Linked DNA regions of Homo sapiens: regions 1, 2, 3, 4, 6 and 7 are each linked to region 5. The links are contacts of gene promoters, found by promoter capture Hi-C in blood cells and fetal thymus (Javierre and others, 2016). All regions are on one chromosome and are shown on one strand. The core of a region is centred on a gene start or on the middle of the fragment in contact, and the rest is flanking DNA. Distances in the headings are between cores, read along the strand shown.

Region 1 (4,371 bases), core at 648-3,147, 850 kb before region 5:
TGTGAATTCCATTTCTTGGACCATATCCATGTTAAGGAGAGAATGGCTCAGCTGCTCTCCTAAGCATTTCAGATGAAATGTCAGAGTGCAGGAATTCACCAGTAATATGCAATGGAGCAAGTCTAAACCCAGGCTCACCGGGTATTTATGGTCCTTCCTTCCTTCCTTCCTTCCTTTCTTCCTTCCTTCCTTCCTCCCTTCTTCTTTCCTTCTCCTCCTGCTCCTCCTCCTCCCCCCCTTCCCTTCCCTTCCCCTTCCTTCCTTCCCTTCCCCTTCCTTCCTTCCTTCCTTCTCTCTCTTTCTTTCTCTCTCTTTCCTTTCTTTCTTTATCTCTTTCTCTCTTTCTTTCTTTCCTCTCCTTCCTTCCTTCCCTCCTTCTCTTTCTTTTCTCTCTTTCTCTCTCTTTTTCTCTCTCTCTCTTTCTTTCTCTCTTTCCTCTCCTTCCTTCCTTCCCTCCTTCTCTCTTTCTCTTTCTTTTCTTTTCTTTTCTTTTCTTTCTTTCTTTCTTTCTTTCTTTCTTTCTTTCTTTCTTTCTTTCCTTCTCTCTCTTTCCTTCCTTCCTTCCTTTCCTCTCTCTCTCTTTCTTTCTTTTCCTCCTTTCTCTCTCTCTCTCTCTCTTTCTTTTTTGAAATAGGGTCTTTCTGTCACACAGGCTGGAGCATAGTGGCATGATCATGGCTCATTACAGCCTCCAACTCCTGGGTTCAAGTGATCCTCCTTCCTCAGCCTTCAGAGTAGATGGAACTACAGGCGCATGCTACCACACCCGGCTATCTAAAAAAAAAAAAAAAAACTTTTTTAGAGATGTTGTCATGCCATGTAGCTCAGGCTGGTCTCAAACGTCTGGACTCAAACAATCCTGCTGCCTTGGCCTCCCAAGGTGCTGCTATTACAGGCCCCAGCCACCGTGCCAGGTCTTATGGTATTTCTTTATTACACATCAGCAGATTTTTCTACCCCTTCAAAACACAGCAACTAAATGTCTACAATTACTCAACAAATCAGTCACTACAAAGTACTAAATTTTATAGTAAAACATGTATGTTTCAGGATCTGGTTCAATCTACTCTCCTGACTTTAGATGATCTATTCTGATTATTTTATTTTAGTAATCCAGATATCCAGATTACTTATGCTTGTGTGGGTTTAGTAAGTCAGTTGAAAAAGACCACCATTTGTTACTTTCTTACTGGTTTTTTTGTATCATTCTATAGAAGGAATTTGGCTTTCTTAAAATGTGTAGAAAATAAAATCAGGCCAAATGTTCTATGAGCCCCTCTGCTGTGTTTGAGTTGTGCAACCCTTTCCTGTTGGTTTCAGAGCTCTAGACTCTGCTGCGGGTGCAGCCGTAACATGGCCTAGAAGCTACATGGCTTCTGGTGAACATGTCTGTTCGGGTTCTTCCTCTCAATTTCAGCCAACCCTTCTGGCCTCTAATCTGGGAATGATGTCCACTTTTCAGGATGGGCTTCTCTATAGGCCAGAAAATATTTTCTGCATGAGAAGGGTGAGGGTATTTGGTAATTCAAGAACATAGCTTAGAAATGAAAAACTTGTTTATTCTCTTAGTTACCCATATTCAGTTCAGATAAAGTTAATCAAGTAAAGCATCACTTGGTGCTAAGTTATCTCTCCTTCCTTTATCTCCTGCCATATGCAGATTCCATTTTCCTCCATTTCTTCCCAAGCAGCCCTCGTGTTCCGTAATTTTCTGTTCCCTGCTTTCTCTATCTAAGTCCCATTCCCTTAGGTCAGCTAAACCAAACTTGACATAAATAAAGTAAAATTGCCCACTAGTAACTACGTCTCTTTTAAAATTATACTTTAGTTATGGATTAGCTGTCTCTTACACTACGCTTGATTATGAGCAACTCAGAGACAAGGGCTGTGTCTTACTCATCCCAGCATTCAGTACTTAGAGAACACTCCACTGTTAGCCAAGATGGGGTGAGGGTAAAGGCATCAGTTGCAAAGATAAGAATGTTTTCTTATGTCAGTATCCCCTATTCTCACTACTTAGCTGTTGCTGCTTGCTTTCCCATAGCTCCTGAAATTATATAATTAAAATAGGCGGGTATAGGCCAGTCATGGTGGTTCATACCTGTAATCCCAGCACTTTGGGAGGCCAAGGTGGGTGGATCGCTTGAGCTCAGGAATTCGAGACTACCCTGGGCAACATGGTGAAACCCCATCTCTGTTTATAAAAACAAACAAACAAACAAAATATGGCACGTATAATGGCTGAAATGGATTCTGTGATAAATAGGTCTTCTAGGATCTGTTCAGATGCCTCTGTTCTAACGGAAATACAAGTTGTCTTTGCATCTTCTCGTCTGCCCCATCTTCAGCTTTTTCTCCCTTCCTTTCTTGTTGGGAATTTAAATGATATAAAATCTCCTATAAAAATTTTTCTTCACTTTTATAATAGTCTGCCACAGAACATTATAAAATCACTCAATTTTCTTTTTATAGGTTAAAAAATCTAAAGATTCAGTAAGTTGTATCAGATATTGAGGAGAGGATCTAAAACTGATATGTGAACAATTACGAAAGAAACTGAAGGAGGAACTAAAGTCCACAGCAGCAGGAAATGACCATGAATATAGTCTATGAATACAGGGGAAGCATATTGTTAAAATGCATATAATGTTATGGGCAGGTGGTAGACTCATTGATGGCCTCCACTGAATCATGGATCCCAACATATATGACCTTTTGTGGTTCCCTCCCACATTGGCTCTGGCTTGGCCATGTGACGCTTGGTCTAGTAGGGCATTAGCAAGTATGACACATGCATTTGGGATTTGCTTGCTTGGAAGCAAGAGAATGCAGGCTCCTATTGACTTGGTGGTGAGGTTCACAATGCTGATTGTAAAACTCTTAGAAGCATTTACATTGTTTTTGACTTTCATTAAATTCCTTTTTATACAATGAAATGAATCTTTAATTTCCTGTAGTATAGTGATACCAAAAAAAAAAAAAAAGATGCCCCAGGAATCAGCAGAAGACAAACTGGGGACTGCTTAAGGTAACGAAAAATAGAGATTTCTTTAATAGAAGTGTTACAGTTTTGAAGCTCAAACTAGGCAGAAAAGGACAAATGAGATCTTGAAAGCCACACTCAACATACAAAAAGGAAAATAAGATAAATTAGACTCGACTGCTCTTTGAGATTGAACTATATAAAAGGTAAATCACGGAGAGTGACTAGAATCTGAAGAAATCTCAGAGAGGAAACCAGAGTGATGTTCCCAGAGGGAGCCCAAATCCAGGAGATACCTGAGTTCATTCCCATGGGCAATGGGAATTCAGAGGTTTGGGATGTGCTCCAAGGTTTTATGACATCCTGGTTAAAAACATGGACTCGGGCCAAGGTGTTCAAATCTCAGATGTACCTCTTCCTATTTCTATGACTTGAGGCAAGTTACGGAATCTCACTCTCTTGCAATTTCTCCAACTATCAAATGGAGAAGAGGATATGTAGCTCATGAGGTTGTTACCAAGACCAAGTTATTTAAAATGTGAAATTATTTCAAACATGTGAAATTCAATAAGGGCTATGTGTTTGTTAGCTGTTATTATTTGAAATATTTTCAACATTAAGATTAAGGTGGGTTTTTTGTTTGTTTTATACATTTATCAAGGTAAGGAAAATTTTCTACAATTTTTTTCTTTTAATCATGAATGAGTTAAATTTTATCAGATCATCTGTGTGATACATTGGGAAGATCATATGATTTCCTCCTTCAATCTGTGTATTTGGTAAATGGTGTTATTATGTTTTCTGACCTCGAAGGATGCTAGAAAACCCTATATGTGAAAATACAATGTGGATTCAATTTACTAATAGTTTATATAGCATTTCTGCATCCATGTTTTTAGGTGAGATTGGCCTACAATTTTATTTTATTATTTAATGTGGGTAAGTAACAATGTTATTAAAAAGTTGCCTCACTTCTCCTTTTTATTTTCCACAAGAGTTTTTATAAGATAAGGACAACCTGTTACTTGAAAGATTGCTCAATCTCTTCTGTGGAATTATCAGGGTCTAGTGCCTTTAAGGAATGGAATTTTTTTTTTTTTAATGGTCTAAAACCTGTCTCTGTAAGGAATGGGAAATTTTAACAACCAGTTCAATTTCTTTGATAGTATAGGGCAAATCAGGTTTTTTATTTCTTCTTCAGCCAACTTTGGTAATTTATATTTTTCTAAAAATGCATTTATGTCATTTGTTTTCAAATTAATTGTCATATTTTATTGATTAAGATTAAACGTATGTTCTTTATCTGTACTTTGAGACCCTTTTTCTATTCTTAGTATAAATTTGTGTCTACTGTCTTCTTTCTCTAATAAAGCTTTTGAAGCTTTTTA
Region 2 (4,221 bases), core at 1,455-3,954, 770 kb before region 5:
TCCTAGCCCTGAGTTTATCTATATATCTTTCAGTAATTTCTTCTCTCCTTCCCCCATCAGAAAATAAAACTACAGGATAGAGACAAAAAGCTGTGCTTCATTTATCTTACAAAGATGTTATTATACCTACCACATATTCCTGTTTTGAAAACAAACACAAGCAACAATCTAACTTCTATTTAAGCATATACACTTTATAGTTACTATAAATCCTGATGCGATGCTATTGCACATGGTTCCCTCCACCCCCTAAATTATAACACCTATTTAAACACTTTTGTAAGTGAATCCAAAAATGGCAAGCCTCTAAACATCTGGCCTAATTATTAATAAATATTCACAAGCAAAGTTTCAAAGTCAAGTGTAATATTTCAACATTAAAACTTTCTTGCTATGGTTTTTACTTTTAAAACATCAGGATTTATGGATATTTTAACTGGAATTGCAGTTCTGATTTTTATGTTGTGTTTCATTAAGGCAGTTTTTGAAGTTGATCTCAATGAAGACCAGAGAGAACAAAGTTCATGTTCACTTGTTTTTCTGCCAGCTCTGGAAGTTATGGATACAGTTTCCTTATGCAAATAGAATAAACTTTCTTCCTGTTATCAAAAAGTCTTGGGGCTAAAATATTTCATACTTGGTCCTTGCCTCAAACTATTTGTTATGAATATAGAACAGTGTTCCATGTATGGAAAAATAGCTGCTTCTTAAATTTCCAAATTCACTAATTCACTGTATAGAAAAATAGCTGCTTCTTAAATTTCCAAATTCAGTAATTCACTGTTCCAAATCCAAGGCTTGTCTTTTCAGTAATGGCTTTTCCTTCTTTTTTTTTTTTCTTTCTCTCTAAAACAGATAGTCTGTACTACTAAAAGTTAAATGCTTAACATGGTGCAGTTCTCAAAGTTATAATGTATCTGGATACTGAATAATTTGAATATTACTAATTTGTCATTTTTTGCATGTAAGCAGATAGCTAGGATACGTTCTCATAATGATTTGTCATTTAAAAATATACATTTTTTATTGAGTATGAATCAGATTGTCTGAAATAGGTACTAGTACAAGGCTATGAAGAGCATTTCTAGTTTCTTATTATATATATTACCAATTGCTTCCTAAAAGTGGTGACACTTTTACTGATACACATAGTAATCATTTTACTATGATATGCATAGTAGTTACATCTTTTGGCTTCTAGTTGATTACTTTTTTTTTCCCTGCAAATTTGGGTTTTGATTACTTGAGCATAGTGATCAAAAAAGATCACTGGGCATCCATATACCGTTTCATTAATGATTAATGGACTACAATATTGACTTGTCTCATGTTATCAAAGTTATAATCTGCTTTATATAGCAAGTTCACTTTGCTTTAAACAGCTTTTAATTTATATTATTGTTCTTGAAAAGGTGAGTAAATATGCAAATTGAATAATTTTAAAATCCAAGGCAGGTTTTGTAAGAAACTTAGAGGCAGAGAGAATTTTTGTAAAGAGAAAAATTATTTATTTTATAAATTTATCTGTTCAGAACATTTACTTTAAATCTGTTAATTCTTCACTTAAGCATGGCAGGGTGGGGATTAGTTTCTGTGGTGGTAAGGATCTGGAAGGAAAGGCTTTCAAATTTATGTAAGTGTATCTGTGGAAGAGTGGTGAATGTTCAAAGTGGTTTACATTGAAACGTTACTTTCCTCTTAAGTTTCTCTTCTGGGGTTATAAATGACTGCAGATCCTCCCTACTGTCTTGCTGAAGCCCCTCACGCCCCTGGTTTGAATTCTTCTCCAATCTTATAAACCTCTTACAGGTTATTCTAACATTTTTATATCTGGGGGAGCTTCTGCTTGTCCCATAACAAACCCTCATTTACAGCAGTGGGACTGGTAGCTAAGTTGAGGTTTGATACATGTTTTTACTTTTACTTTTCTTTAGGTTACTTTGCATCAGCAGACTGCAAACTTTTTCTTAAAGAGCCAGATAGGAAATAGTCCAATCCTGAAGTGGGCCATGTGGCAATACGTAAGCAAATAGGCCTGCTGTGTTTCAATAAAACTTTATTTAATAAAACAGGTGGTGGGCTGAGCTGCTTTGTATAATCTTAGGTACCTTGAATCCATAGTCCAAGGATGGTAGAAAGACAAGAGAGAGAAGGAATTGGGCCCGGAAGTAAAGGCTTGTTAAATAGGTTCATTCTTTTTTTTTTTTCTCAACAAATTCTGAGCAACTGCCTTTTTTCAAGAATTGGTCTCAGCACAATGGTTAAACTGGTGATTAAACAGATGAGTCCCTGCTTTATGAAATTTACATTTTCTACCTAGTGTACATTGTTCACTAACCCTAACATGAGTCAGAAATAACATGTAATAAAGAATGGCTTGGTTATATGCATTTTCTCAAAAGGAGATACATAGAAAACACTTAAAAGAGCCCAACCTAAAAATCTGTTACCTAAAGTAAGACATCCCATAATTTTCTTCAAATCAGTGGTTCTCAGCCTTGATTCTACATTAAAAGCACCTGGTAAGATTTAAAAAAAAAAAAATTCCTGTCATTACCTTAGACCAATTAAGCAGAAATTTTTTGGAAGCTAGACTCAAGATTCCCAGAAAATTTCATTGTGCAGCTGGAGTTTAGAACCATGGGTTTCATTTCATGTATGATAAAAGTCTTAAATTCAAAACAGCAGAAAACCTTTACATAGTTTCATTTTTCTAGAGATCAGTATTTATAAATAATTTTATTTTGTGACACTTGTCAGTAAGCGAACACATCTTATTTAAGTTCCAGTTTTTTAATGAGCTCATGCATTAATACTATTTTTAGTAATGCTGTTTGACTTTCTACTCTTAAACTAGTATATTGAAGGTCTATTTATACTTTGTTTAATTTAATAATAATGATCATTTTTAGGATACTGCTGGTCAAGAGAGGTTTAGAACATTAACTCCCAGCTATTATAGAGGTGCACAGGGTGTTATATTAGGTAAGTGTTTACTTTAATGTACTATTTAAAAATATTTATTGGAGTTTCTGATTGTCCTAGTCTGTGAAAGTTAATATGTCTTTGTTTTACTTCTCGTTAGAGCTACTTTTATGTAACTTGTAGTTGTATTAACTTCATGTAATATTAATGAATATTAAAACTTTTGATTTTAGTCTTGTCTAGCACTTAAAAAATAGACAAGGCTAATTTATTTGGTTTGAAAACACATGTCAATGAGAACGTAATTGAGGATTAATCAGCATATGTTGGACTGTCTTGGAGTATTACAGAAACTGGGCTTCTGTTATCAGCATATTAATATTTGCTGTAGTTTATAAAGGACGAAAAGTATTTGTTGATTAGTAGAATCTGCTTTATTAGTCCTAAAAATATCACAAAGCACTTAACACTATTGATTTATAATCAAACAAAATTTAGAAACCAGATGTGGATTCTCAGTGTAATTTGTTGAAAAGTGCTTGTTCTTGATATTCCTGGGAAACTGTTTAAAATGAATATTGATCAATTGTATTAATAGGTAGAATTCTCTTTTTTTAAATATTATGGCTTGGTAGTGACAGCCTTTTGGTTCAGCATCTCTTGAGTTTATAAAACACTTTAATAAGGTTTTTGTTATAATGCAGAATGACATAAGATGAAAGTGATAACAGGAAGACCACCAGGAACCCATCTACTAACTGTACTACAATTTTTTCAAAGCTGTAAATTTTGGTTCTTGTAATAAACAAATTAATGGGGTCATAGATGTTTACATTCATGTATTTTTTTTTTAATATTTTGCCACAGATTTGAATCTAAACACTCTGGTTTTTGGATAGACCTCATTCATCATTATGAATGGGAATAGCTGTTGTTTTGCTTTAATGGGTATTAAATGTGTTTTCACTTATTACACAGGATATAATTTCATTTCTGTGACAGTATATGTTAATAGGATTGAAATGTGTATGCTTTAAAAAAAAAACACTTGTTTCTTCCATTTGGATCAGTAGACACTCAATATTAATCGTTGAAGACAATAAAAAAAAGACTTGTCTATATTGCTTAGTAATGCTAACTCCTAGCTACATATCAGAAATACGCCATTGCTTCTTTCTTTAATGCTTATTTAACAAATGACTCCTTTTATTTCAGTTTATGATGTCACAAGAAGAGATACATTTGTTAAACTGGATAATTGGTTAAATGAATTGGAAACATACTGTACAAGAAATG
Region 3 (3,973 bases), core at 572-3,071, 930 kb before region 5:
AGATTCCCACCATCTGTATTGTTAGTAGAGACAGAGTTTCACCATCTTGGCCAGGCTGGTCTTTAACTCCTGGCCTCAGGCAATCCTCCTACCTCAGCCTCCCAAAGTGCTGGGATTACAGGTGTGAGCCACTGCAACCAGCCTTATTATTTCTCTTATTCTGCTCAGCCGCATATAATCTAAGGCACATGCGTTTACCCTACGCTTACATAAGACCTTCTCACTTTCTCTTTTTCTCTTCCACTTCTTCTCCCCAAACCCCACTCTCTCATTCCTCACTTCTCTCTCTTTCTCTTTGATGTGGCCATTTCCACAATCATGCTCTAAATCGTGGTCTATTTTGATTCCCATCTTTTCTATCAATAACTCTACCAGGCAGTTAATTTCTATATTTATGTTTTGTTCTTATAAAGAATTTTCTATTAAATATTGAGGTATGTTATTAAACTTAAAAATAAATTATTTAAATTATGATATCAATTTAGACTGACGTCCTATCTCCTAGTATAAATACAAGCCATCCAAACATTATTGCTTTTGGGGAAATTCCTTTAATTTTCATGACCTGATCTGCCCATGGGTTTACCAGACTGTCTTTGTAATGCAGAGGAAAGCCTTCTCTGCTTTTCTTTCTTTTTTAAAAATATATTTTATTTGTAATTTTATTTTTTTAATTTTATTTATTTATTTATTTTTTGAGATAGAGTCTCACTCTGTCACCCAGGCTGGAGTGCAGTGGCTCGATCTCTTCTCACTGCAGTCTCCACCTCCCAAGTTCAAGCGATTCTTGTGCCTCAGCCTACTGAGTAGTGGAATTACAGGTGAGTGCCACCATGTCCGGCTAATTTTTGTATTATTAGTAGAGACAGGGTTTCACCATGTTGGCCAGGCTGATCTCGAACTCCTGATCTGAAGTGATCTGCCCACCTCAGCCTCCCAAAGTGATGGGATGACAGGCGTGAGCCACTGCGCCCGGCCGGCTTTTCCGTGGCACCACTTGACATTCATAGTGAGTCCGCCCTTGGCACTTCCTCCAGTCTAGCCCCACTTGCATTTGTGTAGGAAAAGTTCCACAAAATATGAGGTATTTCGGATGACATCTTGGCTCATGCCTATCTTGGCTTTTTTTTTTTTTTTAAACAATCCAACAATTTCTGAGAAGGTGTTTGACTCTTCTCTTCTCAGAGCACTATGTCTTCTGGAAGTCAATCTGCATTTTCAGGGACTGTTGAAAGTCAAGTTATGTGCTGTTTCTAATGTCCTGGGCCATCTCTCAAGACATTCGCTGATTACTGTGTTAATGTCTAAAAATTGGTTTGAGCTTTTTTTTTTTTTCTTTTCTTTTCTTCCATGAATGCATCGTCTCAGCTTTCAGAATTAAAGCCTGCCTCTGATCCAAAAATTAAAGTGTAATCATGGACACGATTTTTACAGGAAATCGGAGTTTCCTAGCTGAAAAAGCAGTGAAATTGACTGTCAAGGAAAGGTGTCTACACTTTTAACAAATATTCTAAAGAAGAAACAAAGAAGCTTTATTGGGGTGTATCAGAATACTGAGGGAAATGATTACTTAAAATGGGCCTGATTTTGGCAATGATTATTTAATATATGAAAAAAGTGAGGCCGGGTGTGGTGGCTCATGACTGTAAACCCAGTGCTTTGGGAGGCTAAAGCAGGAGGATTGTTTGAGCCCAGGAGTTGGAGACCAACCTGGGCAGCATAGTGAGACCCCACTTTTATACAAATTTTTAAAATAATTCGGCCAGGCATGGTGGTGTGCACCTGTAGTCCCAGCTATTTGGGAGGCCGAGGCAGGAGAATCACTTGAGGCTAGGAGTTCGAGACCAACTTGGGCAACACAGTGAGACTGTCTCGAAAAATAAATAAATACATTAGCCGGGCACGGTGGTGTGCAGCTTTATTTCTAGCTGCTTGGGAGGCTGAGGCAGGAGGATCACTTGAGCCCAGGAGTTTGAATTGCAGTGACAGCTATAATCAAGCCACTGCACTTCATAAGCCTAGGTGACAGAGCGAAACCATCTCTAAAAAAAAAAGGTAAAATTTTTTATTTTTACATATTTGTAACCACAAGATGGCACCAATTTCCCATTTAAAAGCTTGGCATATGGGTGTTTTTCATTTTTTACATATTTTTCCAAGATTACAAGCTGTTGGGTGAGGTTTGGTTACCACCTTCCCTCAAATATGGACTCCTAGACTATAAAACTAGGGCCATTGCATTAAGTAAGAATCCATATGTGCAATTAGGTTTGTAATTTGCATTCTCTGTATCACGACTTCAATGTGGAAGGAGTGACTCTAATGAATAAGGACGAATGCTTAGTGCATTTCTTCACAAATGTTAAGTTCCAGAGTAAGTTTCAAACCCAAAGCCACATATTGGCAATTTTATGAGGCTTCTCTCATGCAAAGTCCTCAGATCTTTGTTCTTGAAAAGGAAAAAACTGTATGACTACACCTATTCACCACCCAGCCAATTAAAAGCAGGAAGCACTTTGGATATCTGTTTGCATGCTTCAGGATCAGGCTATATGTGTTGTCTTTGTTATATGATTTCTAATGCATTTATGAGTTTTGATGGCCAAGACCAATAATCAAAGCAGATTGCATGTAATTACTCTCTTGGTAGTTTTTCTTGATTATCCCATAAATGGGATTTGCATTTCTGAAAATGCCTACAAAATAGAATTTGGCCAAACATTCTATGATCACATTTTCTGTGATGTTGGTTTTAAAGTGACTTGAAATTGTGAAATCCTTCTGTGTCAGTTTTATTGCTCTGAGACTCTAGCCTCTGGTGAGTTTGGGAGGGGGCCTGGAAATGAGATGGCATCAGATTAAACGTGTCTGTTATATACTTATTTCTGTATTAATTTACAGGTGTTAGAACATCTGCTCCAAAAGACTTCAGGCAAAGATGGAATTTATTTTCTCACTTAACTGAAAAAGTCCACAGGTAGCCTTGCTGCCAGTATAGTTGGATTCTGGGCTCAAACAATATCGTTAGGGCTTGGGTGTTTTTTTTTTTTTTTTTTTTTTTTTTCTGTGTTTCTCCTCTCTGCCTCCCGCTGGATTGAATTCATGTGCAACCTCCTCGTCATCACTTCTGGAACTTCTAGGCTCTCTGTGCTTTATGACAAGATGACTGCAGCAGTCCTAAGCTCAGGTGAGTCCAAGATGTAAGCCCAGTAGGAAACAGGGAGCTCTTTTGCTTACAAGGCTAGGAATTATTCTTGTGTCTGCAAGCACCAAGGCCAGGGGAACGTGATGTGCTTACTGGCTTGGGCCTGAGACATGTGGTCCACGCCTGAGGCAGCAATAGAGCCCACCTAGCGCACGTGAACTAGATTGAAGAAGGAATAATCTGCAAGTTAAGCTAGGAGGGCTGTTATCAGAATGGATGTGGCAAAATCTAATTCTAGAAAGGTTTTATATAGCCCTGAGCCTAAGCATAAAATATACTGAGTTCAGAGGTTGATATGGTTTGGCTCTCTCCCCATCCAAATTTCATCTTGAATTGTAGCTCCCATAATTCCTACATGTTGTGGGAGGGGCCTGGAGGGAGATAATTTAATTAAGGGGGCGGTTTCACTCATATGCTTCTCGTGGAAGTAAGTCTCACGAGATCTGATGGCTTTATAAGGGGAATCCCCGTTTGCTTGGTTCTCATTTGCTGTTTGTCTGCTGCCATGTTAGATGTGCCTTCCACCTTCCGCCATGATTGTGAGGCCTCCCCAGCCATATGGAACTGTGAGTCCATTAAACCTCTTTTTCTTTATAAATTACCCAGTCTGGGGTATGTCTTTATCAGCAATGTGAAAACAGACTAATACAGAGGGGTTCTTCATACCTTGAAAATATTATTCTTCGAGTGACAATTTTAAAATCTTTGGAAAATGACAAAGCTAACAGGTCGGTGACTGGGTCATCACTTGCATTCTTACTTAGGGCA
Region 4 (3,934 bases), core at 318-2,817, 810 kb before region 5:
GAGGCTGCCATCTAGGCAGCAAGAGAAAATGAGGGAGAAGCAAAAGTGGAAACTCCTGGTAAACCCATCAGATCTTGTGAGACTTATTCACTGTCATGAAAATAACATGGGAAAGACTTGCCCCCATGATTCAATTACCTCCCCCGGGGTCCCTCCCATAACACATTGGAATTCTGGGAGATACAATTCAAGTTGAGATTTGAATGGGGACACAGCCAAACCATATCAATTTTCATATCATATCATGTTTTCCTCTGGGTGAGAGGAAAATAATAGATTGGATCAGGGAGGAGCACACAGGGGGGTCTTGAACTTGTCTTTAATGTTTAGTGCTTCACATTAATAACATAATGTTTGATGCTTAATACGTTTGATAAAACTGGTTATTCATATTCTCTATAGATGTATATGTTTAAAATATTTCATAATTTTCTTTAAAAAGGGAATCCACTGGTCATGTCACAGAAAGATCTATGAGTATCTGGCTGTGAGTCTGACTCAATCCAGAGGATCCAGTTGTGGTGTCAGGAGCTGTCTCCAGCTTTTGGAGTTACTTTCTTTTCTCTAGGTGCTATTCTTATTTAGGTTCTTCATTTTCAGCAGCTAGAGGGCTCCTAATACCTCCAGGGCCCTATCTTAACCTGTTGGCATCTCTTGCAAAATGGACTTCTCTTTTCTCAAAGTTTTTGCAAGGGTCCCAGAATTTCACCCCATTGAGTAATGTACCCATCCTTGAATTACTTCATTTTCACACGGGGAGTGAGCTGATAGGGCTGGACCTTTTTAATGGGCACCCTCTGGAATTGGTGAGATAGGAGATCAGCTTCTTTCAAAGGACATTAAGCGAGAGGTTTCCCAAGGAAAAAGGAGTGTGTTAACTGAACCAGGAGAAACAGATCTGGGATAATAAGAAACAACAGATATCTAGTCTTACATAAAGAATTGCGTATACACTATATCAATGATTATCTTAGAACAGTGCCTGCTGTGCTTTCCCATATCTAAGTGACAGTAAGTTAAAGGGAAATATGAATTGGTTTCACTTGGGAATATGTCTACATATGCAAACTCATTATTGAAATGTCAGAAAATATAATTGAACAGTATATAAAGGAATAACTTACCAAATGAATCTTAGGACAAAATAATATAACAAAATCTATTACAAAATCCAACATAATACATTGCGTTAATAAGCTATGAGAAATGACAAACCATAGGTGAAGCTCTACAGATATTCCCATTAAAATTAGGAATAGAAAAAAGTGATGCATGTTATTGTCACTATTATTTTATTTTTTCTAAAATGGTAGTCAATGCATTAAAATAAAAGGCAGATACAAAAAGTATAGTAAACAGAAAGTGGGAGAATTGTCCTATCAACAAAAGATCAAAACTAACAGACATGGACAGATTCAGTTCAGTTTATCATCAAGGAGAACCTAATCTAAAAGACAAGGACACAAGCATGCTTTGGAACAGGAGCAGTGGGAGTATTAGACACAGAGCCAGGTTGTTCTAAGAATTATCCCAAAACTAGAGAAAAAGAACAGGACACAGCCCCCAGGCAATGGGACTGGCAGGAATGAGGCCGGAAGCAGAATCCAGCCAGCTGGCCTGATTCATAGAGCAGATTCCAGCCAGCTGGCACTGTGAGTAGAGAAGCTCTGACTCTCCAAGTGCTGTAGGTAGGACAGTTAGGTAGGGGCCTAGACTTTCCATGGTGTGTATTTGCCAGCACCTACTTGTGCCCTGGAGCTATAGGCATACTAGCCATGAGTACCCTTACATGAGAAGAGCAGGGCAAGAGATTTTGATATGGTGCTGGACTGGCTTATTGTTGGTTTGGTGGAGGGAGAGGCAGCCTATTCCTAAATGGATACTTCTTTGACAATATAATTGGGTTGATGGCAGAGGGCAGATGGCCACAGTATTACAGCCTTCTTTTTACCTGTGTTTGTTGGGTCCCGAGTTCTTGTCCCACATCCAAGAAGAATGAGGCTACTTTGACAATCGAAGGGTGAGGAGGGTGGAGAAGAATTTTATTGAGCAACGAAACAGCTCTCAGCAGATGGGGGATGTGAGGGTGATCCTTCACCTGAAGTTTGGTGGTCTGTCTCTCAGTGTGGCTGGGTCTGGGGCTTTTATGGGGTCAGAATGGGGAGTGCGTGCTGATTGGTTTGTGAGTATGAAAAAAAAAAAAGGCTAAAACAAAGGCACCACTCAAAGGTGGGCACAACAGTTCAGAAAACCAATTAGGAAAGGGTAGGTATATGTAAAATAGGTGAAGGGCGGGAATCAATCAGAGGAAAGCACACCAAATGGGAAAAGAGGTTCTCAATCCAGTCCAAGGATTTACCCAGGACTGTCTTTGGCTTGAAGGTTGGGTTTCACTGGGACCCGCTCCTGTCTGCCATAGATTTGTCTGCCTCCTGCCTCTATCATGACCGTGGACATGGGCTCAGTTATGAACATTCATGGCATAGCAGGGGTAACTATCCTGGACTAATTACCAAGCTCACACAGTTGGGTCTGATCCTATCCAGCATACCAAAGATGACTGCTCTTATGCCAAATTGGCCATTGGGTAGTGCATACATTGGATATATCCAATAGCCCTGCAAAATTGTTGAAAATTGAAGAAGGTAGTTTGAAATTTGTTTCCTCATTCCTTGCTTAAACAAAATGTAAACAGTCTACATAGGATTTAGATAAGATTCAAAGTCTCATAACATAATATGTAAACTGTTCAAAATCCAAAATTATTCAGTTTACAAAGAATCAGGGACAACTCAAAAAGACAATAAGCAGATTCCAGTGCTGAGATGATGCAGATTTTGAAATATCAAAGAACAAAAGTAGGACAAATTTAAAGATTTCAGTTAGCTTCATTGCAATTACAGAATAGGGCAAAACTTCATTCCACAAAACAGAATAAGTGTTCTGATGAGCTGAGCAGAAGAGTTTGGCTTTATAGACAGAGAAGAGCTGCAGAAAGCAGAAGCAAAGAACAAAGAGCATATTAGTCGTTTCAAAGCTATTTTTTTTCTTGTAAGGCTGGGTCAGGGAGAAAGAACAATAGAAAAAAACTGATTAGTTAATATCAGGTTGCTTCAGGCTACTTTGCGTGTGTTTTAAATTTTTTTATTGATATATAATATTCATATGTATTTATTGGGTATACGTAATATTTTGTTACATGCATAGAATGTGTAATAATTGAATTAGGGTATTTCAGGTATCCATCATTTTGAGTAATTATCATTTCTGTATTTTGAGAACATTTCAAATTGTCTCTTCTAGCTATTTTGAAATATATGATACACTGTTGTTAACTGTACTCACCTTACTCCACTATTGATCATTAGACCTTATTCCTTCTATCTAAATGTATGTTTGTTCCATTAACCAATCTGCATTCACTCCCTTACTCCCAGCACATAGCCTTCCATGCCTCTGGTATCTATCATTCTACACTGCCTCCTTGGGATCAACTTTTTTAGCTCCCGCATATGGGTGAGAACATTCAATATTTGTCTTTCTGTGCCTGGTGTATTTCACTTAACATAATGATGTCCACTTCCATCCACGTTGCTGAAAATGACAGGATTTCATTCTTTTTTATGGCTTGTAATATTCTATTGTGTACATGTACCACGTTTCTTTATTCATTTATCTGTTGATGGACACAGGTTGATTCTGTATCTTTGCTATTGTGAATAGTGCTGCAATAAATACAAGAGTGAAGGCATCCCTTTGATATACTGATTTCTTTTCCTCTGAATAAATACCCAGTAGTGGGATTGCAGGAGCATAAAGAAGTTCAATTTTTAGTTTTTCCACTCAAAAACTCTGAGATCTGATTTTAAAAAATTCACTAAAGTTACAGGTCAAAAAATCAACATATACAAATCAGTAGCATTTCTACACACCA
Region 5 (3,793 bases), core at 918-3,417:
CACAGTGAGCCACAGCACTCCAGCCTGGACAACAGAGTGAGACTCCACCTCAGAAAAAAAAAAAAAAAGAGTTCCATTCAGTAATCCATAAGACATTTTCATGTTCCTGATAACTAGTAAATTTAACAAAACCTAACGATTCTCTAGAATTCCCTAAGCCTTAACATCATACAAGCGGCTACTCCCAACTACCCATTTCAGCCTGTCCCACACTAATGCCCAAACTCCTTTGGTCAAGTTATTCTAATTAAGAAATTATTCTTCAATCCGTCTATAAATTTACAGTAAACACTTCCCGAAACAAAGTCATAAGTCATGATCAAAATGCATTACACTTCATTAGTATTTTCCTTCTGCATATCAATTATTTCTATTCAATTCAAAAAAAGGTACCGAAATTCAATGCTGAGCTAGAGATGCAAACACAAATAAGGTTCTCTAATTTGGAAAGCTTCCCAAAATTTAAAATAGAGATTTTCACACAGCATTCCTAACTTTTGTTTGTTTTGCCTGTGTGGAAAATTACCTTTCACCTGAAATTCAAACTAGCTAAGCAACCTGAATGGAAAGAAAAACCTCGCAGATAATATTTCTTTACTTGAAAATAACCATCTCCACCTCTGACCTGTGTATACGGGATCAAATTGGTATGCAGAAGTTGGCTTGATGGCGGGAATCTTACCCAGATTTTGGATTAAATCCATTATAGGTATAAAATAAAGTAGGAGTAAAGTGGGGCAGGATTCCTTTCATTTCTAGGGCTTTCAGTTGACATACCTGTAAAATGGACATGCTATGCACAGCCTGCCTCAGAAGAGTAGGAGGATGGCATACTATATAATTGATAGAGTGCTATGAGCTTCACGATTAAATGGAAATACTGTTTTTATAGAACCAGAGTGAACCTGAGCATAGAAAACTCTCCAAGGGCCATCGCTGTGACATTACCGCTAAAACTCAGTGACCTTCATCAATTCACTTGTAAACAAGCAATATATTGAGCAAGTCAAAGGAAAGGCAGCAACAATTCAAGATACTTCTTTATAAGTAAATCAAATTACGTAATTAATAGCCCAGGATTTACCTGCAAACTATTACTGCCTGACTAGCAGGTGCATCCCCAAAGCCTCGAGTACAGAGACTGTTTTTAGAGAGCCCCCCCTTTTTTAAATGTGAATATTGCTTTTAAAAATTAGAAAAAGAAAAAAATCACAATTCTACTCCCACCCATGGCACAGTGACAGAAACAAGGTCCCACCCCCACAATCCTTTCAAACCTGCACAGGCATTCCTCACGAACACTCCTCCCCCTCATTCCTACCTCACCGCTCCCCACTTCAGCCCAGACAAAGCTGAGTTACTCGGCTGGGTCTACCTGTCACTTAAGAAAAAGCCCCCAAATAGATTCACGCTAAATGCTGCTTTTAATTTTTTAAATAGCAAATAAGTAAATAAATAATGCTATCGTGTAGATTACACGGCCAAACGCCTGTTCTCAGAAAACATGTAATTAACACGACCCAAGTGAAGACGCCTTTCTGGCTTAGGGAAAGAAAAAAAAGAAGCCAGCCAGCTTATCGCTCCCTTTCAGTCGGTTCTTTTCCCCGGGGAGCCGGACTCTGACTCAACTCCGCAGTTTTTCCTCCACCTGTCGGTTCTCCCCGCTCTGGGTCTGCCCCGCCGCCGCCCCCGCCCGGAGTCCCGCGCGTCAACAGGGGTCTCCAGGGGTCCTCAGGGTCCCGCCCGAGGCGGCCCCGCCCCTGCCCCGGCCCCGCCCCCACCTCCTCACAAGGTGCCCGCCGCGGGCTCCCAGGCTGAGGCGCCTAGAGGCCGGCAGGAGGCTCCGGAGGACCGCGGCACCGCTCGGCCCGGTCGCCGGCGCAGGGAGCAGCTTCGGGGGCCGACCCCACCGCCCGAGCCTAGCCCTGGGCTCCGACAGGCGCTCCCCAGAGGCGCCCCATTACCTGCTCTGGGCTGCCGCGGTCCGCGGGCAGGAGGCGCACTCGCTCTGGCCCCTGCAGCCCCGGGCCCGGAGGCAAGGAGGCAGCGACCGCCACCGCCGCAGAGGACAATCGGGAGCCAGCGGGCTCGGCACCGCCGCGGCGGGCGCAGAACGCACGAGCCCAGTGGGAGCCCGGCCCCCGCCTCCAGCCCGGCTAGTAACCAACACGGCCCCCACCCTCGGAGGGGCGGGACCGCGGTTGGAGGGGCGGGGCGGGGCTGCACCGCCCGCGGGTAAGAGGGGCCTGCTGATAGGCTGCGAAGGCGATAGGCGTCTCAGACTTGAAGACGCCTCTCCAGCAGAACTCCCTCATTGGTCGGCAAGAGAAAACAAAGCTGGGCTCTGATTGGTGACAGCTCTGTAGCTCCTCCTCATACCCGCAGTCCCCGCAAGTTCCACCCCTGCCCGCCCGGTTCGCTCGCCCTTGGTTCCCACTCCCAGGTGGCTGCAGACTGGAGTGTGTTTCATGGACGAGCAACCTCCCTGAGGAGAACCCCGGATACGCAGGTTCATTCGCCAGATGCGAGTTTTCTTAAGCCGCTGCGATTCTCTGATTTCAGTATGAACTTGGTGAATAACGTAATCTTTAACTTCCTTTGGATTCAGACAAGTCTCCTAGGTTTAAAAATGCTGCATAAGATTGAGAGGGATATTGTTATGCACGAAAAAAGACATAAGGTGTTTTCACCTTTGGCGACACTGTAGGTGACTTTTTCTTATTACCTTTTTGTGTTCCATATTGAACATGTACTACATGATTAGAAAAAAAAATTCTTAAATAGAAAAATGAGTAGGGTGCGGAGAATGGTAAAGACAAACTTTAAGGAAATCCAGAGAACTGATTCTTTCACAATAGAAGAAAATACAGTAAACATGCTTAATATCTGAGGGCTACCCCGAAAAAACATGAACTGGTATCAGCGCCCTTCAGCTCTCTTAAAGAACTTTACATATGTGACCGAGGTGCCCCCATACTCCTTCCTATCATGTAACCAACACATAATGTGGACAGCACTACACTGCAAACAGAATTACAGGAAGACTCTTATAGGAAGAATTAGAATCCAAAGTACACAATCAATAAAGCTTTAGAAAAAGGGGTAGTAAAAAGCAGAAGACAAAAAAAAATCAGGTAATATAAATTGGAAAGCTCAGCTGATGGAGGGAATCATCAGAAAAAAAATAATGTGACAACACTTCAAGATGTGATAGAGACTTTGAATGGAAAGCTGAAGGGAGAGGAAGGGGATTGAGATAAGGATCAATGACCTGCAGTTAATATGAGCTCTCAGAACACATCCCCCAGAACTGGTGTCAGCCTAGAAGGCAAGAAGCATTTCTCACCTAGGGACCACTCTCACTTAACTCTCTCTAGCTGCCTTAACATTCTGTTTGTTCTTGTCATTCTCGCAAAGTTCTAAAACAGGCTATTTGAAATTAAGCACTTCCCCCCAGCAACTCCGTGAATTACGTAATAGTGAAAAATGGAGATAGACAAAAAGCAAACCTGAGGAAGGAAAGGAATGTTAAGGTAAACATAAACTTAAAGAGAAGTAAGGGCAAAACACCTGATAGAAAGAAGACAAGAAATTCTTTTTTCTCTCTTACTTCCTGAGAATAAAGTAAAGGTCTTTGGAGGACAGAATAACCTTATTGCCTAACAAAAAGAGTTTTTACCAAACCTTTCTAATAATAACTGTAATTCTAAACTGTAGTCTAAAAATACGTGTCCTAAAGTAAGTACTTTGAGCAAATAGTTTTGAGATCTAATATTTTTACATTGTGTAAGGA
Region 6 (4,240 bases), core at 37-2,536, 790 kb before region 5:
ACAAACTTGGTCTCTGTCATCGTGGACCTAACAGAGTGTGTTAATTTTGTATGTTCAGCATTTGCTACAGTGTTTGACGTGTATTCTTATCTTCACATATGTATTGATACTAGTTATTAAGGATTGTTAGGAGCAATGATACTTAAATGCCTTTTAAGGATAAGATTTAGATCGCCTGAAAGTGGTTAGTCACACTAACTTATGAGAATATATGAGAAGATAGAGGTAAGTATTTTGGTATCATGTGTTTAGACTGCAGACAACGTAAAGGGATGAAGAGACCACTTGGAATAGTTGAAAGGTAGCTGAGCTGAGTCAGAGCTAGATAATAGTCTTGGTTGACTTTGCCTTGAATTACATGTAATCTTGATGAAGTCACTTAACTTACTAACTTCATCTGTAAATTGGGAGGTTTTGTTAAAATTTCATGATCTGATGAGGAGAATATAGTAAAGATGATCCTAGCATTATTGTTAGGGAAAATAAAGAGTTTCTGTTAACTGGCTTTATTTGTTTTCATTGATTGTATGTCTATTTTTAAAATTTTATTGTGAAACAATTTCAGACTCAAAGATTTGTAAAAATAGCACAAATAATTCTTATGTATCCTATTAAATTACTCCAGATGTTAATGTTTGTCACATTTGCTTTATCATTCTCTCTCTACACACAGTATTCTTTTTTAAAAAAATGAGAGTAGATTGTAGACATGATGTCTTCAACGTCTGCATACTTTAATGTGTATTTCTTAAATGAACATAGATACATTTTATTGTCTATACACAGATTTTATCAGTTGTCCCATTAATGTCCCATATAGCAAAAGACAAATAATTGTTTCGGGTCCAGGATCATACACTGATTTTAGTTATTTCTCTTTAGCCTCTTTTATTTCATTTAATTAATGAATTAATTTATTTTCGAGACAGAGTCTAGCTCTGTCGCTCAGGCTGAGTGCAGTGGCACCAACTCAGCTCAGTGCAACCTCCACTTTTCAGGTTCAAGTGATCCTCCTGCCTCAGCCACCCAAGTAGCTGGGACTACAGGCACATGCCACTGCGCCTGGCTAATTTTTTTTTGTATTTTTGATAGAGACGGGGTTTACCATGTTGGCCAGGCTGGTCTTGAGCTCCTGACCTCAAGTGATCTACCCACCTCGGCCTCCCAAAGTACTGGGATTGCAGGTGTGAGCCACCGCGTCGAGCCTCTTCAGCCTCTTTTAATCAGCAATTCTTCAGTCTTTATTTGCCTTTTCAGGGCCTTGACATTTTTGAAGAGTAAATAATTATTTTGTAGAATGTCTCTCAATTTGTGTATGTCCAGTATGTCCTTAACGGTTAGATTCAGGTTATGCAGTTTTGGCAGCAATTCCACAGAAGTGTTTTTCAGAACATAGTGTCAGTGAAGTTATTATTTTTCCCTTCATAACTAATATATTTCTTGTAGAGAGATACATTGAGACTGTATAGGTATCCTCCTTCTTACACTTTTTGCCCTCCTGTTGTAGCATCCATTGATAATTCTTGCCTGTGACAAGTGATAAGGACAGTATATGATCTTTTCATTCCAACTGTGATGGTTATCAAATGGGGATTTTTTTAAAATGCCATCACTCTGTCTATGTATCTTGTTTGGAATTCTGTAAGTAAGAGCTCTTTTTTTTTCTTTTTTTGTGAGGCAGTGTCTCACTGTGTTGCCCAGGCTGGCCTGAGACTCCTGGGCTCAAGTGATCCTCCTGCCTCAGCCTCCCAAGTAGCTGGAACTACAGCCATGTACCACCATGCCCAGCTCAGGAGGAGCTCATGTTTGTTTGTTTCTTTTTCTTCATATGAACTCATGGTGCCTCTAAATTTTCAATAAATTAGGCATTACTTAGCTTTTGCATGATATTAAGATTTACAGATTTACTCTTATTTGTGTCATAGGAAAGGGAATCATTTAAAACACGAATTCAAAATCCATTGTAATTTGGCTTTGTTGTATTATAATAATAATTATTATTATTTAATTTTATTTATTTATTTTTAGACACAGTCTTGCTCTGTTGCCCAGGCTGGAGTGAAGTGGCACAACCTTGGCTCACTGCAGCCTCCACCTCCCCATTCAAGTGATTCTGGTGCCTCAGCCTCCTGTGTAGCTGGGACTACAGGCATGCACCACCACACCTGGCTAATTTTTGTATTTTTAGTAGAGATGGGTTTTGCTATGTTGGCCAGTCTGGTCTTGAACTCCTGGCCTCAAGTGATCCACCCACCTTGGGCCTCCCAAAGTGTTGAGATTATAGGTGTGAGCCACTGTGCCCATACTGGTGTATTATTTACTCCTATAAAAAATTACTTAGTAGTAAAACCTTATTTTGGTCAGAACCTGCCTGAGTACGTATTGGTATTGGCTAGCCAGGAGGAGAGCAGTAGCAACTGGCAGGAAAATAAACTTGCCTAAAGTTAAAATTTTACTGAAGGAATGAACATACATATAATATTAACTGTCTTCATTACAAACCCAAATGGAATTTGGGGACTTGTGGCATGACAAATCGTGGGTTGTCTTTATTACTAAAAAGGCTTTGTCTTCTGCAAAGACAAATACTAAGATTATAGTATGCTGGTGAAAATATATGTAATTTGTTCCCCAAATAGGCCCTAGATCTTGAATATGTTGAACAAAATATCTTTTACATTGAAGCATCAGATTACTTTCAGCCTTAGGTAATAACATATATATATATATATATTTTTTTTTTTTTTTTGGAGACAAGAGTCTCGCTGTGTTGCCCAGGCCGGAGTGCAGTGGTGCATGATCTCAGCTCACTGCAATCTCCGCCTCCCAGGTTCAAGTGATTCTTCTGCCTCAGCCTCCCAAGAAGCTGGGATTGCAGGTGTGTGCCACCATGCCTTGCTAATTTTTATGTTTTTAGTAGAGATGGGGTTTTACTATATTGGCCAGGCTGGTCTTGAACTCCTGACCTCAAGTGATCCACCCGCCTCAGCCTCCCAAAGTGCTAGGATTACAGGTGTGAGCCACCACGCCCAGCCCACACATGAGTTTTAAACATAAAAACAATTACTTAATGGCCTTGTGAAAATTAGTGTTTTATGAAAATTGGTATTTTACCCCACAGTAAAATAGTAGTAAGGAAAGTGTATTGTTACCTTTTAGTAACTTAGTGAGACACTTAAGTTTCTGTCTTGCATAAAATACTCTTTTAAGATAATTGTTGGATTTGGGATTTGCAGATGGTACTATAAAGTTAGCATTCTTCTTTCTTGGCAATTAGCTAAAAACAACAAAGAGAGGGAAAAACTGACACACAAACCCAGCATTCCACTAAACTAGAAGACAGTTAAAAACCCCAAGCCACAAAATAGGTGGAAATGTTGCCAGGAGCAGTGGCCATCAGGCTGGCTGCATGTGGGAAGAAGTAGGTAGGATGCCGTGGCTGTGGAGCTCAGAGACAACAAGAAACACCCATGAAACTGCAAGGCCCCCCTGAGGTATAAAACCTAAACCCCTTGTTTACAAAAGTGAAGTGGGTTTCTTCAGCTCAAGGCAGGAGCTTTCCTGCACCTGGTTTAATTCTAAGAAGTCGGGGAAATGAAGCCAAACAAGGAGTCACATAAACAAGCCATTTTTGCAGGAAGTAATATGTGTCTATCTCTATAGCAGTTGGGGAGGAGATGACTGCATTGTGAAAAACCTCCAGACTGCCTGTCTGCATTGGCTGTTGAGAAGTAAAATGCTAAACTGTCTCTTAGGTAAATCTCTGAATCACGAAAAAGTTGTCAGTCCAGAACTGGAGGCACTCTGGCCTTCTGCATAAACCTCCTACAAATATCAGGTTCTGGACAACCAGCACTTCTTCAGAGATGAATAATCAAAAGGAATTCATTAAGCTTGACTGCCACAAATGTTTGGAAATAAAAAAGGAAGAAAGAAACAGAAAAACAAAGGACAGATGAAGAACAGTAACCTAAAATATTGCCATAAAGAAGATGAATATTGTGATCAAACATTTTGCCATGAGTTTAGAAAACTTAATGAAGTATTTACTGCTGAGAGCACAACGCACTTGACATAAGAGGCCGGGGAAGAAATAGAATGATTGCATGAGAAAATGCAAGGTAAGCTGATTGAGTGGAAAGAAAAATAAATGAAATTAGAAAATAAAACTATTACTGAAATGAAGATGAAATTGAAAGGATCACATAGATAATAGAGAACTGTGGAAAATACAATAAGA
Region 7 (4,007 bases), core at 68-2,567, 570 kb before region 5:
GCCATTTAAAACTTTTCTTGTTTATGAACTTTTAATTTGTGTGGAGAATGCCAATTTATTTAAATACACATTTACATATAGTATATTGCCAAACAACTGTGCATAGTACTTCATCATAATTTTTTAAAACCTTTTTTGTTTAATAACTGTTTATTGATTGTTGTTTCTTTCCTTTGTAATTTCCAATTTTAATTTGCGTCGATTTTTGCTTGTTTAATTTATTATTGTTTTAAAAGAGTCAACTCTTATTTATTTTTCAGCTTCCCATTTGACCTTTTTTTATTTTATTTTATTTTTCAATTATCTGTTTGAACAATGTGATTTCTTTCCCTGTCTCTAAAAATAAACATTCATAAAACTCTGAATTACTTTCAAGCTCTTCTCTGGTCACAACAGTCAGATGTTAATATGTAGTGTCTTCATTTTCTTTTGCAACAGGGTCTCCCTCTGTTCCTCAGGCTGGTGTGCAGTGGCATGATCACGGCTCACTGCAGCCTTGATCTCCTGGGCTCAAGCGGTCCTCCCACCTCAGCCTCCCAAGTAGATGGGACTGCAGGTATGCACCACCATGCATGGGTAATTAAAAAAAAAATTTGTAGCAATGGGGGTCTCACCATATTGCCCAGGCTTGTCTCAAACTCCTGGGTTCAAGGAATCCTCTTGCCTCTGCCTCCCAAAGTGTTGGGATTACAGTTGTGAGCCACCTTGCCCAGCTTCATTTTCATTATTGGCCAAATTTTCTTTTATTTTTTCTTCTTCCTAGACCCAATTATTATTTACAAGACAATTTCTGTAATTTTGAGTGTTTGGAGTTTGTTTTTATTGTTGGAGTTGGTGATGCAAAGAGAAAATGAGGTTGATTTAAGTCTTTAGAAATGTATTGATATTTTCTCTGAATCTTTGTAGATCATTTGTCTCATATATATTTGTAAACGTTTGAAAATCAGATTGCTGGTGAAATGATCTAAAGGGTACATTAACAGAGCAACTTTAGATTTCTTAATAAAGCCCTACTGTTCATGGACCAAGCTTCTTGATATTATGAAGAAAAGATGTAGTAAAATGTGTATAGTTTATATCATAGGGCCTAGTATACCATAACTACTCTATACATGATTGGTAGTAGTAGGGATAATAATAGTGATTATAGTAGTGATGTTCTTCCTATCTCTTGTGCAGATTCAGAGATCTGGAGGAGAGTACCTACTATGTGTTCTTGGTCTGGGTTTTCTTATCTGTGATGTAATGTGCCTGGTCTAGATGTTTTCTGAGGTTATTTCCAGCTCTAATATTCTAAATCTCATTTGCTGACATTTTCAGGACCCAGACTCTGTCTACACCAGATGTTGGTCATGCATATTCCTTGTTCCAAAGTCACCTCATACACTTCTTAAGAGCAAACCTCTCTGGGAACTGAAGTCAAGATAGAAATTTTTACCAAACCTACTACTCCATCTGAAAGTTTTGGACAGGTAGGAATCGATCCTTTATTTCTGGAAGGAAAGTAAAATTTTAAAAGCTATTTTTCATCCCTGCTTATGCTTTTCAGGAATGAGAGTAAAATTTCCAGAGCAATGGAAGCCAGACCTATACCTTTCTTTCACAAAAGCTTGACACCCTATTAATTTGTTTTCATTTACCATCACTATTTAGCAATCAAAGCATTTAACAGAAAAGATAAAATACAAAGTATTTGCAGGACTGGCCACAATCCGGCACTATCCTCTATTATAAATTATTCATAAAAGCCAGTATACACCCCCCTAAACATTGTTATTCTGAAGATTAAAATTATTATAAAGAATGAAAATTCTTCCATCTTGAGTTAATTTTTGTATAAAAACAAAATGAAAATATTAAAAAATTAAAATTAAAAAATATAAAAAGAATAAAACTTCCTGTCTTTAATATGAAAACTGAAAATTTCTCAGTAAGACCATAATCTACTAACAAATGTATCCATTGGCAATTCTAAACAAAACGAAAGCTTTAAAACTGAATTATGGGCAATATGTGAATAATCTGATGTCTTTATACCTGTTAAAATAAATCCCTCTGATGCAGTTTTAATTGTGCTTTAAACAGGTATCGCAGGAATTACTACAGAAAGCACGGACTTACCTGTGCGATAGACAAAGTTGCCTTCAGTTTCTGATGACGATGGAGACACTAATTCTTCCTCAAATTCATTGGAGCTAAAAGATCCCGAGTGGTTTCTTTGCCTTGTTTTTCCCATCATGGTAGTGTTCGTGGCCATGACATGTCTCAAAGAGTCATTAAGGTAACGGTTCAACAAGCTGCTCTTGTATTTGGGGGGTGCCACGTAGTCCTCACTGGCCCGTGACTCTGGCCTCACTCCCGCTTTGATGACCGAATTCTCACTTTTAATCACAGGATGGTGAACTGGGGTATTATAGCCCCCTTCGTTCATGTGGGTTCTTGGAGGATTTTCTCCATCTAAAGTGGAACAGTATCACTAAGTAGGGTGGTATGCATACTTTCCCCCAGCCACCCAACTCTTATATTTAATCCTTAAAAATATATAAAGGAAATATATTTAAAGTATATAAAATTATCTTTGATAGTCAAGATCAATTTTTAGGCAATGAAAGCAAATATTTATGTCATCTCTCGCTTATGGTATTTTAATTTTAATGAATTTCACTGAATATGTTATTCTGACACATGGTATATCTATAAACAAGAGGAAATGGCCATCATTCCTTTGGTCATTTATAGTATTATAAAAATGAAGTTACTTCATGCAATAAAAAAGAACCGTTAAGGCACCATCATATTTTGTGAGAGCAACCTTAAAAATAGCAATTATGGTGAACTTGCTAATAGAGGCAAAACAAAGAAAGCAAAATAAAAATATTAACAAACCTTCAGAACATGAGTCATCACTGCTTACGCTAAGCCGTTCAGCATTGCCTTGAACATACTTGTTGTATAACTTTATTCTCAAAGCCCAGCTTAAATCTGGCTGTCGAACGGTATTCTTAAGCCGACGTCTTGCATTAGCAAACCAATTTGACACCTAAAACAGTATTATTTTTCAATTAACAAAACTTAAAAACATTATCCATGGTGCGATTATTTTCTCATAAAGGAGCTAAGCCTCTCTCAGCACCTCTGATCATTAAATATTCTCAGGACATAAGAATACCGGACATTCGCATCCATTCATTCATTTGACAAACATGTTGCTTACTACAGACACTGAGCATTTAGTGTATTTGTGGAATAAGGAAAAATGAAAAGGCCTTGACATCAAAAAATTTAATAAGAGAAAAGTCCAGTAAGAGAAGTAGGAGGGTATACAAATAACTAGTATAAGAAAGAATGTGATGAATGGCATACAAGACATTAAAATGATACGAGTCCAAAGGAAAGAGGGGTTACTTTCATATATGACTCCAGCCTTTTTGAGGAAGTTAAGTGAGCCTTTGAAGAAAGTCCAGAATAGGTCAGGTCAAGAGGGAAGGGAAGTGCATTCCCAATAAAGAGGACACAGGAACAAATAGAAGTGAAATTCCACAGAAATTGTAGGGGTTGAAGAAGAGGGAAGAGTTAAAGATGACCTTGAGTCATCAAACCTGTGGAACCAAGAGAAGGGTAGTGCATTTGGGGAAGGAGATGAAACTTTCTGAGGATAAAATGATGTGTTTGGCTTGGGCAATGTCTAGTTTGAGGTGCTAATACTGGTGACATGTCTGGTAAGAAAATAAAAGTGGTATCTGAGATTGAAGGGAGGGGATGAGCAAATTCAAGAGGAAAAGGCACAGAGGTAATAGTCAAAGTTGCAAGAGTAGAGAGAGTGAAAGCAGGGTCAAGGGCCAAGCTTTGGAAACCATTAGAGATGAAAAAAGTGGGATCTGTTCGCTTCCAAAAGAGGCGTTAGCAAAACAGAGGTAGAACCATGGGTGAAGAGGGGGAAAATAAACCAAAGAACTCCTCACTTTAAGCCAAAAGTCAAATGTTTCTTAGACAAATAGGTGAAGGCA

The links. Contacts are between HindIII fragments. The CHiCAGO score rates a contact against its expected background, and 5 or more counts as called.
Region 1: a contact is called between a fragment that was not itself captured here and the fragment with the promoter of MPP7 in region 5, in 11 of 17 cell types (total B cells, monocytes, naive CD4 T cells and 8 more). The highest score is 11.1, in total B cells.
Region 2: a fragment that was not itself captured here is called in contact with the fragment with the promoter of MPP7 in region 5 in 3 of 17 cell types (erythroblasts, fetal thymus and M2 macrophages); the score reaches 6.6 in erythroblasts.
Region 3: a fragment that was not itself captured here is called in contact with the fragment with the promoter of MPP7 in region 5 in 2 of 17 cell types (fetal thymus and endothelial precursors); the score reaches 7.6 in fetal thymus.
Region 4: a contact is called between a fragment that was not itself captured here and the fragment with the promoter of MPP7 in region 5, in 1 of 17 cell types (fetal thymus). The highest score is 6.1, in fetal thymus.
Region 6: a fragment that was not itself captured here is called in contact with the fragment with the promoter of MPP7 in region 5 in 1 of 17 cell types (fetal thymus); the score reaches 6.2 in fetal thymus.
Region 7: a contact is called between a fragment that was not itself captured here and the fragment with the promoter of MPP7 in region 5, in 1 of 17 cell types (total CD8 T cells). The highest score is 7.6, in total CD8 T cells.

The regions. Positions count from the first base shown.
Region 1 is chr10:27,446,419-27,450,789 of GRCh38, forward strand. No RefSeq gene overlaps it. Among named protein-coding and RNA genes, the nearest start is that of PTCHD3, 34 kb to the left of the region's middle. The HindIII fragment of the contact is 4,912 bases long and covers 1-4,353 here.
Region 2 is chr10:27,529,595-27,533,815 of GRCh38, forward strand. RAB18 (RAB18, member RAS oncogene family) reads left to right here. Exons shown (of 7, transcript NM_021252.5): 4 at 2,913-2,985; 5 at 4,141-4,221. Among named protein-coding and RNA genes, the nearest start is that of RAB18, 27 kb to the left of the region's middle. The HindIII fragment of the contact is 5,728 bases long and covers 1-4,221 here.
Region 3 is chr10:27,367,933-27,371,905 of GRCh38, forward strand. No RefSeq gene overlaps it. Among named protein-coding and RNA genes, the nearest start is that of LINC02673, 26 kb to the left of the region's middle. The HindIII fragment of the contact is 587 bases long and covers 1,529-2,115 here.
Region 4 is chr10:27,489,382-27,493,315 of GRCh38, forward strand. No RefSeq gene overlaps it. Among named protein-coding and RNA genes, the nearest start is that of RAB18, 13 kb to the right of the region's middle. The HindIII fragment of the contact is 5,616 bases long and covers 1-3,934 here.
Region 5 is chr10:28,300,897-28,304,689 of GRCh38, forward strand. MPP7 (MAGUK p55 scaffold protein 7) reads right to left here and starts at 2,168. Exons shown (of 17, transcript NM_001318170.2): 1 at 1,965-2,168. It overlaps MPP7-DT (MPP7 divergent transcript), which reads left to right and starts at 2,273. Exons shown (of 2, transcript XR_930772.3): 1 at 2,273-3,533. RefSeq lists a silencer at 1,715-2,354. The HindIII fragment of the contact is 2,637 bases long and covers 450-3,086 here.
Region 6 is chr10:27,510,300-27,514,539 of GRCh38, forward strand. All of the region lies in intron 2 of RAB18 (RAB18, member RAS oncogene family), which reads left to right. Among named protein-coding and RNA genes, the nearest start is that of RAB18, 8.1 kb to the left of the region's middle. The HindIII fragment of the contact is 5,210 bases long and covers 1-3,891 here.
Region 7 is chr10:27,732,335-27,736,341 of GRCh38, forward strand. It overlaps MKX (mohawk homeobox), which reads right to left. Exons shown (of 7, transcript NM_173576.3): 4 at 2,887-3,040; 5 at 2,122-2,457. Among named protein-coding and RNA genes, the nearest start is that of MKX-AS1, 10 kb to the right of the region's middle. RefSeq lists an enhancer at 1,769-2,968. The HindIII fragment of the contact is 580 bases long and covers 1,028-1,607 here.